3 separate regions of the Homo sapiens genome follow, and regions 1 and 2 are each linked to region 3. Evidence: promoter capture Hi-C in 16 types of primary human blood cells and fetal thymus (Javierre and others, 2016). All regions are on one chromosome and are shown on one strand. Each heading gives the region's core, a stretch centred on a gene start or on the middle of the fragment in contact. The rest is flanking DNA. Distances are from core to core; before and after follow the strand shown.

Evidence for each region. Contacts are between HindIII fragments. The CHiCAGO score rates a contact against its expected background, and 5 or more counts as called.
Region 1: a contact is called between a fragment that was not itself captured here and the fragment with the promoter of EIF5 in region 3, in 2 of 17 cell types (fetal thymus and total CD8 T cells). The highest score is 6.6, in fetal thymus.
Region 2: a contact is called between the fragment with the promoter of TDRD9 here and the fragment with the promoter of EIF5 in region 3, in 1 of 17 cell types (total CD4 T cells). The highest score is 10.2, in total CD4 T cells.

The regions. Positions count from the first base shown.
Region 1 is chr14:102,594,208-102,597,128 of GRCh38, reverse strand. All of the region lies in intron 2 of RCOR1 (REST corepressor 1), which reads right to left. Among named protein-coding and RNA genes, the nearest start is that of RCOR1, 3.0 kb to the right of the region's middle. The HindIII fragment of the contact is 1,196 bases long and covers 1,074-2,269 here.
Region 2 is chr14:103,926,865-103,929,716 of GRCh38, reverse strand. TDRD9 (tudor domain containing 9) reads right to left here and starts at 1,261. Exons shown (of 36, transcript NM_153046.3): 1 at 993-1,261. The coding sequence starts at 1,207. The HindIII fragment of the contact is 2,314 bases long and covers 1-1,480 here.
Region 3 is chr14:103,332,632-103,335,509 of GRCh38, reverse strand. It overlaps EIF5 (eukaryotic translation initiation factor 5), which reads right to left and starts at 1,273. Exons shown (of 12, transcript NM_001969.5): 1 at 1,250-1,273; 2 at 913-1,121. It overlaps EIF5-DT (EIF5 divergent transcript), which reads left to right and starts at 850. Exons shown (of 1, transcript NR_158216.2): 1 at 850-2,878. RefSeq lists silencers at 418-657, 768-817, 958-1,377 and an enhancer at 1,698-1,817. The HindIII fragment of the contact is 3,190 bases long and covers 1-2,878 here.

The DNA.
Region 1 (2,921 bases), core at 422-2,921, 740 kb after region 3:
GGCCGAGGGGGGCAGATCACCTGAGGTCAGGAGTTCAAGACCAGCCTGGCCAATATGGTGAAACCCCGTCTCTACTAAAAACACAAAAATTAGCCAGGCATGGTGGCACGCACCTGTAGTTCCAACTACTTGGGAGGCTGAGGCAGGAGAATCACTTGAACCTGGGAGATGGAGGTTGCAGTGAGTCAAGATTGTGCCATTGCACTCCAGCCTGGGCAACAGATCAAGACTCCGTCTCAAAAAAAAAAAAAAAGGCGGGGGGAGGGGCAGTCACAGTGGTTCACGCCTGTAATCCCAGCACTTTGGAAGGACAAGGCGGGGAGATCACCTGAAGCAAAGAGTTCGAGACCAGCCTGGCCAACATGGTGAAACCGCATCTCTAATAAAAACACAAAAATTAGTTGGGCGTGGTGGTGGGCACCTGTAATCCCAGCTACTCTGGAGGCTGAGGCAGGAGAATCACTTGAACCTCGGAGGTGGAGGTTGCAGTGAGCCAAGATCGTGCCACTGCACTCCAGCCTGGGCAACAGAGTGAGACTTGGTCTCAAAAAATAAAAGAAAAAAGAAAAAAACAAGTAGGAGGAGGAAATAAAAACTAGTAAGGATCAAACTCTCAATTCTTAATTTATTACTCAATTCACTACTCTTAAATTGCAGTCATGGAAAGAACCTGTCTTAAGTCTTAAACAGCTAAGAAAGAATTTTGCTATAAAACAAACATCAGTTGGCTGGGCACGGTGGCTCACCCCTGTAATCCCAGTAATTTGGAAGGCTGAGGTGGGTGGATCACCTGCGTTCAGGAGTTCCAGACCAGCCTGATCAACATGGAGAAACCCTGTCTCTACTATAAATACAAAAAATTAGCCAGGCATGGTGGCGCATGCCTGTAATCCCAGCTACTTAGGAGGATGAGGCAGGAAAATTGCTTGAACCCAGGAGGCAGAGGTTGCGGTGAGCCCAGATCACGCCATTGCACTCCAGCGTGGGCAACAAGAGTGAAACTCCGTATTAAAAAAAAAAAAAATGTTGTATCATTTCTATTCCAAAATGGAAGCCTTCCTTCCCCTTAAGCTTTTAAGTTAAATGAAAAGACACATAAAAAACCACTAGGAAATAGTAAAGTCTCAATTTTCTGCCATATCTAGAAAACTGTGTCCCCCTGCTTAGGTTGGCAAAACAAGGTTTGAAATTACTTTACACCAGTTAGATTCCTTTCCAGATTAAAACAAACACAAAATAAAGAAATTTGGGGCCGGGCGCGGTGGCACATGCCTGTAATCCCAGCACTATGAGAGGCCGAGACGGGCGGATCACGAGGTCAGGAGATCAAGACCATCCTGGCTGACACGGTGAAACCCCGTCTCCACTAAAAATACAAAAAATTAGCCAGGAGTGTTGGTGGGCGCCTGTAGTCCCTGCTACTCTGGAGGCTGAGGCAGGAGAATGGCGTGAACCTGGGAGGCGGAGCTTGCAGTGAGCTGAGATCACACCACTGCGCACTCCAGCCTGAGGGACAGAGCAAGACTCCGTCTCAAAAAAAAAAAAAAGAAATTTGGAAATTTTAATATCAATACTCAACCAATTGGCAGCAAGACTATGCAGCAAAACAGTTAGATGTTTTCCTTTTTATTTCTGAGACAGGGTCTCACTCTGTCACCCAGGCTGGAGTGCAATGGCCAGATCACTGCTCACTGCAGCCTTGACTTCCCAGAGATCCTCCAGCCTCAGACCCCCCCGTAGCTGAAACTACAGGCACATGCCACCATGCCCAGCTAATTTTTTTATTTTTTGTTGAGACAGAGTCTGACTACATTGCCCAGGCTGGTCTCCAACTCCTGAGCTCCAGAGATCCTCCAGCCTTGGCCTCCCCAAGTGTTGGGACTACAGGTGTGAGCTACTGCAATCTGATAAATGTTTTCCATTTTAGAATAGCTGGTCACTAGCAAGTTTATGCTCATATCTATTCCAACAAAAAGCCCAAAGACAGTTCAAAATATTATATTTGCTGTTTCAAAGAAAAGTATAACTCCAAAGAAGTCAAACTCATTACTAACAATGCAGAGCTGATGTCAATATTTCGATGAATGTCAGAAATCTAATTCCTGTTGTTGACAAATATGCCCTTTTCCTTAGTCACATCCAACACATCTACATAAAGTTTTCAAAATTTATGTTAACAAAAATGTATCAAAAAGCCTACCAACTTACTCAAAGATTTGTGGAAGTCGATTTTTAAAAATAATACATTAGGAAAATTTGGTAACAAGCTTTATGTTCTGTGTTTTAAAGCAAAGATAGACTTGACCTACAAAATGAAGACAGGGTCAACTGTAACCAAAAAACAGTATGCTTCCCCTGGTGGCCAACCAAGGAACGGAGGAGCCAAGCATACAAGAGATATAGCCTGGCCACCTAGTTCTATCCTGTCACTCATAAACGAGAAGTGACTACCAAAAAAAAAAAAAAGAATTGGGGAGAAGAGGAAACTATCAAAAACACTAACATGGACTTAAAAGAAACACAAACGCGAGTATTAGACAAATAAATTTAACAGATTTACGTCAACAAATCAAAATTTAGAAGGCCAATTTAGGAAGTCATTTATTTCCAGAGTGTCCAAGAGCTCACCTAGGACCTCTATGTATTTTCACTTCAAAGTGCAGTTTAGTACCTTAATAACAGCTTGAGAGCAATCGCCTTTTTCAAGGACTAGATCATTGCAATTTTCTGCAGTCTTGTTTCCAAGGAAAAAACATGTATGCGTTTATCTTTTCAAATAAACTAGTGGTATAACCCACATACAGAACCCCAGCTCTAAAGCCCTCCAACCATGGAGGATTGTTAACTCCAGCTTTACAAGATGCTCTTTTGAATTTTATTTCTGAAATAAATCCTACGTTCTTTCAAACATTTTCCATACC
Region 2 (2,852 bases), core at 12-2,511, 590 kb before region 3:
GAAACCCTGTCTCTATTAAAAATACAAAAATTAGCCAGGCGTGGTGGCATATGCCTGTAGCCTCAGCTACTCGGGAGGCTGAGGCAGGAGAATCGCTTGAACCTAGGAGGGGGAGATTGCAGTGAGGCGAGATGGCGCCACTCCACTCCAGCCTGGGTAACAAAGTGAGACTCCATCTCGGGGGGTGGGGGGAGAACTTGGAAGCAACCAAGCTCTCCTTCAGTAGGTGAATGGAGATAAACTGTGGTACATCCAGACAGTGGAATATTAATCAGTGCTAAAAGGAAAGAAGCTATCAAACCATGGAAAGGCATGGAGGAACCCCCAAATGCATACTAATACTAAGTGACAGAAACCCATCAAAAAGGCTACACATACTGTGTGATTCCAACTAGATGACAGTATGGAAAAGCAAAATTATGGAGACAGTAAAAAAATCAGTGGTTTCCACGTGGTGTAGGGAAAGGGAGGCAGGAACAGTGGGGCCGAGAAGATCTGTAGGTCAGTGAACTCTGTAATGCGTGACGTTAGGCGTTTGTCCAAACCCACAGAACGTCCAGTACGAGGCGTGAACCCTCCTGTAACGATGGCCTCCGGGTGACGAAGACGCAGCGATGCAGGTTCGCCGACTGTCACAAATACCCACACCTTACGCAGATGCTCACAGGGGAAACTCTGGGAGGGAAGGGGCCTATGGGACCTCTGCCCTCCGCTCCGTTATCCTGAAAACCTGAGTGCCTCAAAAACTAGTCTGTTAAACATTAAGAACTGAAAAAAAAAAAAAAAAAAAAACCTCTAGCTCAGCTTCCTTACAGGCACCGCTCTGGGCCGCGCGTCGGGTTGTGTAGTGACCACTCGCCCTGGACGGTCAGGGGTCCCTGGAGCCCCGCGAGAGGGCACGGGCTCGCGAGAAGGATCTGGATGGCCCGTGCCCTCGTCGCCAGGCCTCGCCCGGCCGCCCTCCAGCCGCCTCCGCCCCGCCCGCGTCCTACCTTTCGAACGCAGCGGCCGGCCGGGCCGGAGCTTGGGCCAGAGCCGGAGCCTGGGCCGCGGGACCAGCGCCGGGGGCCACGTCCTGGCGCTGCACCTCCTCCCTGGCCGCCCCTGCCGGGAAGGCGGGCGGCGCGCCCAGCAGCTCCACATTGGTCACCGTCTTGCCGATGGTGAACCAGTCGTTGATCTGCTCGATGGTGAGCTTCCGCAGCATCCTCAAGGCCCAGGCGTCGGCATCCCCCAACTGCCGGGTCTCCGCGGCGGGAACAGGCGACGGCGGAAGCGCACCCTGGAAGCCCCGCCCCCGCTCGAGGCCTTCCAATCAGAACGCGCCGCGCGCCCTTGTGGGCGGGCTCCGGCCCGGGCGCGTGCTGCCCGCGCTGCCTGGTCCTCGTGCCGCCGGCCCCGCCCCGCCGCGCTAGGCCTGCCGGGAGCCGCCGCCCCGAGCGAGCCCAGGGTGAGCCTTTCTAGGACCTCAGGGGAAGCTTGAGCGCCGCGGCTGGCCCGGGAGTCTGTTTCACGGGAGTTCCGTGGCAACCCCTGTGTGTACAAGAAAATGCCCTCCGGTCACTCCCTGGCCTCTCTATTTAGAGGCTGCTGCCTCGGAGGTTTGTGCGCTTTGAGCGGACCGGGACCCTACATACGTTTCTTGAGCACCTCAGGGTGAGGAGATGGAAGGCAAACCAGAGAAGGGATTTGCGTTCGTGGGTCAGACGTACCAGGACATCCTTGCACCTAATATGGGGGGAGAGGGGCAAGAAGAAGGTCAGGAAGGTCTCGGAGAAAGTAACGCCAGGCAGACCCCTGCAGGATACGGGGGAATGCGCCAGACGGAGGACCACCCAGGGTTATAGGGGAGGGCAGGCGGCCCTGATGGCTGAGGTGAGGATCTGGGAGAAGTTCTTTGCAGCCGGATCATAACTGAATTCATCTTCCTTCCTAAACCGGTGTCTCAGGCGGCGGTGTCAGACTCACAGCTGGACACAAACAGGTGCGGACAGGAGGTCCAGGCGATCACATGGACCAAAGATACAGGCTGAGGTGGTCCCGGCCGAGCTCTAGAAGAGTGAGGGTGGAGAACAGAGCCCTAGCAAACTCCCCAAAAGAAGGAGCCGCGGGAAGAAATCAACAAAGGATGCACGGGAAGGCAGCCACGTGTGCAAGGGAAGGGAGGGTCAGAAGAGAGACATGGCCACCTGCCTGGGGTGTGTCCCCCTCACTGGCCAGGGCAGGATCTATCTGGCCCATGTGGGCTCTCAGGAAAGAGCCATGTGAACAAATACAGAGACGGTATCGAGAGCATGGCTCTAATCAGCAGTGTAAAGCCCAAGCAGTGGCAAATAAGAGGGCGGTTTGAAAACACTGTAGACAGAAATCAGGCAGGTAGGTTGAGCTATTGGTGTCTCAAAAATTGAACCCATAATCATACTAAGCCAGGAGTTCTGGCTCCAAATCCTGGCATAATGAGCTCTAGACCTCATATTAGGACTCTGCCAAATACGACAGGTTCCCAAAAGTGCCTCAACACACTTTGCCAGGAAGAAATAACTTGCTTTTCTTTTTTCTTTTGAGGCAGGGTCTCACTCCTGTCGCTGAGGCTGGAGTGCCGTGCTGCAATCAGGGCTCACTGCAGCCTCAACTTCGGGGGCTCAGGTGATGCTCCCACCACAACCTCCTGCATAGCTGGAACTACAGGCTCACGCCACCACCACACCGGCTAATTTTTTATATTTTTAGTACAGACAGGGGTTTCGCTGTGTTGCCCAGGCCAGTCTCAAGCTCCTGGGCTCAAGCAATCTGTTTGGGAGCCCTTGGCCTCCCAAAGTGTTGAGACTACAAGCATGAACCACCATGCCCAG
Region 3 (2,878 bases), core at 24-2,523:
TTCTCATGTAACACAGTACAATCTGCGGGAACATAAAAAGGCCTCCATTTCGACTAAGCTGTGACTGGTAGGGAAATGCCTGACAAGAAAACACAAGCTGTGCTGCCTCAGCCGCCGTGAGATTCCATCAGACCGAGGGCAATCAGCAGGTTTGCCTCTGCGGCCATCCTGGAAGTGCTGAAGAACGAACCCGAGCCCTCTCCGCCGCCCACCCCGCCTGGATAAGCAAACTTCTCAGGCACACCCCCGTTCGTCTTCATTTTTAAGGGCAACCTAGGGAACTGTTCTCTACAACTAATCGTTGCTTCGGCAACCATGGCTTACTTCAAAGCAGCACTTCCTTAAACGCAGCGCTCGCCCACAATTTGCCATTAAGCAAGAGAGCGCGAGCGAACGCCAGGCTCGCCCCGGCCTCCCTTTTCCTCGCTATTCAAATACTCGGTTAACCTTCGCCCTGGTCCCCATGGCTACCGCGCTCCGAGGCGTTTCCGCGGGGGCTGGCGAACCGGGCAGCTCCGCGAAGGAGGGGGGCGCGCGACCGGGGCGTCTGGCCCCATCCCCAGCGCGTCCCCCGAGAGCCGGCGGCCCCGGAGGGTGCACAGCCGGGAAGCGACACACGGCCGAGGGGTGCCGGGATCGGGCCGCCCCCGCCCCAGAGCGCGCGATGACTCACAAATGCAGCAGCTGAAGCCTGAGTCAGCCCGAGCGGCGGGCACGCGCGACGCGCTCCCGCCATGCCGGGGAGGGGGCGAGGCCGGGCCGGGGAGCGCGCGGGGAGGGGGCGGCCGGCGCCCGGGCCCGCGCCCGCCCGCCGTCCGCCCAAACTGCGCCACACGCCGCGGCGGGGTCACGCGGCGGCCGCCGCCATCTTGTGCGGCCGCCATCTCCTGGCCCGCCGCGCCCGCGACTCACCGTTTTCGTCAAATAAAGACATAAACCCAACGCTGCTCGCCCGGGACTGGGATGAAGTGAGGCGCGATATAAACCCGAGTCCGAGTCCGAGGAGGCGGAGGCGAAGCGCAGCGAGGAGCGGCCGGGCCAGGTGCCGCCGCCGAGCAGCGGGGAGGGGCTGTCCCAGCGACGTCCGCGGTCCACACCCGTCAGCGCCGGAGCTGGGCGACCTGGCGCGGAGAGACGGCGCCGTGAGCCGTGGGCGGTCGGGGAGTGCACCTTCCCCGCCAGCCAGCGGCCCGAGGGGTCGAGGGGGCGGGAAGCACCGGGCAGGGGGCCGCCCCTTCACCGGACTCACCTCTGGAATGTTCTCGCTCTGACTGAACAACGCCGCCGCCGCGCTCAAGCTACCCTCGGCCCCAGCGTCCGCCCCCCGCGTCAGGCCTCACTGCCCATTGGCTGGAGGCCTGCCACAGCTCGCTCGTCATTGGTTCGCTTGCGACGTCAATCGCATCTTTCCGCGCCCCTTCTGCTTCCTGAGGCTCAACTCGCGGCCTCGGCCCGCCTCCAGCCCCGGTCTCGCTTCCTTCCTCTCCCCTCCCCCCGCCTTTCCCAGAGGTCTTCGCGGCGCAGCCCTTGGGTCTCGCGAGACCCGGAGTGGCCCTGGTGGCGGGGCCGGGGTACCGGGGGCCGTTCTTTGTCGGTTTGGGCCTTGAGGGGGAGATGGTGGTTGGTCCCCTCCCTCGCCGGGTCTGGGACAGGCCGCGGCGTCATGGCGACTCCCGGGACGCAGGAGCCATCGTCCTCGAAACTGCTTTCGAGGCCGTGTTTTTGCGGCTGCCACCTTCGGGGAGAGGAACCCGACCGCGTTCTCCCCGCAGCGGGCGCTCATCTCCCTTTCCCGTTCTCCCGGGACGCCCGACTCCGGGCCTCGAGGAATGAGTTGTTTTTCCACCTTAAGCCCCAGGCCTGGGTCTTTCATCCCAGGGACGTCTTCTGTTTCGGACTCGGGGTGGATTGGCCGCTGGCGGAACGAGTCCGTGACTCGCCAGTGACCGCCCAGGGCGGTCGCGAGGCCGCGCCGCCTCGGTGTCGGCCCGCAACCCAGCCTGCGCGCTTAGCTCAGCGCGTCGCCTCCCGTTTTCGGAAGAGGAGGCCCTTAATTGGTTTGGAATCCTGGGGCCTCCTGAAGGCGCTTCGTGGTGGGTTCCCACCTTCTGGTGAAGGCCTCCCTGCTCTCCCAGGGTTGAAAAGCGCTATCCTTCGTGCTTCTCTTGTCACCTTTCTCCTAGTGGGCATCACGTCGAGTCCACCCCCTCTAGTTTATGACTTGTGAATTCTTTGATAAGCAAATCGTAGCCCAGAGCAGGCATTTATAATGAGATTCCAATGTATTCCGTTGAAAATTACTATTATTTAGGCCGGTCGCGGTGGCTCACGTCTGTAATCCCAGCACTTTGGGAGGCTGAGGTGGGCGGATCACCTGAGGTCGGGAATTTGAGACCAGCCTGGCCAATATGGTGGAACCCTGTCTCTACTAAAAATACAAAAAATTAGCTGGGCGTGGTGGCTCGCTTGTAATCCCAGCTACTCGGGAGGCTGAGGCAGGAGAATCCTTGAACCCGGGAGGCACAGGTTACAGTGAGCCGAGATCACACCACTGCACTCCAGCCTGGACAACAGAGCGAGACTGTCTCCAAAAAAAAAAAAAAAGAAAATTTTTATTATTTAGAGAGAGGCTCTCATATTTTAGTTCTGTTGAAACTCTCCCATTCTTTCTGAAACTTGGATTTTTTTTGTGAAAACTTGAGTCTTAAAAACACATCCATAGTTCACCCTGAAGTTTGAAGACCTCACTTGACTGATGGAGCGAGAGCCCCGCTAACCTGCACTCTGGTCTCTAAGGTGCAGTCATCGAGAAGTCCTGAGCGGCCGTGCAGGTTTCCCGATCTGGAAAAGAGAAATGTTGCTGAGGACAGGATGAGGT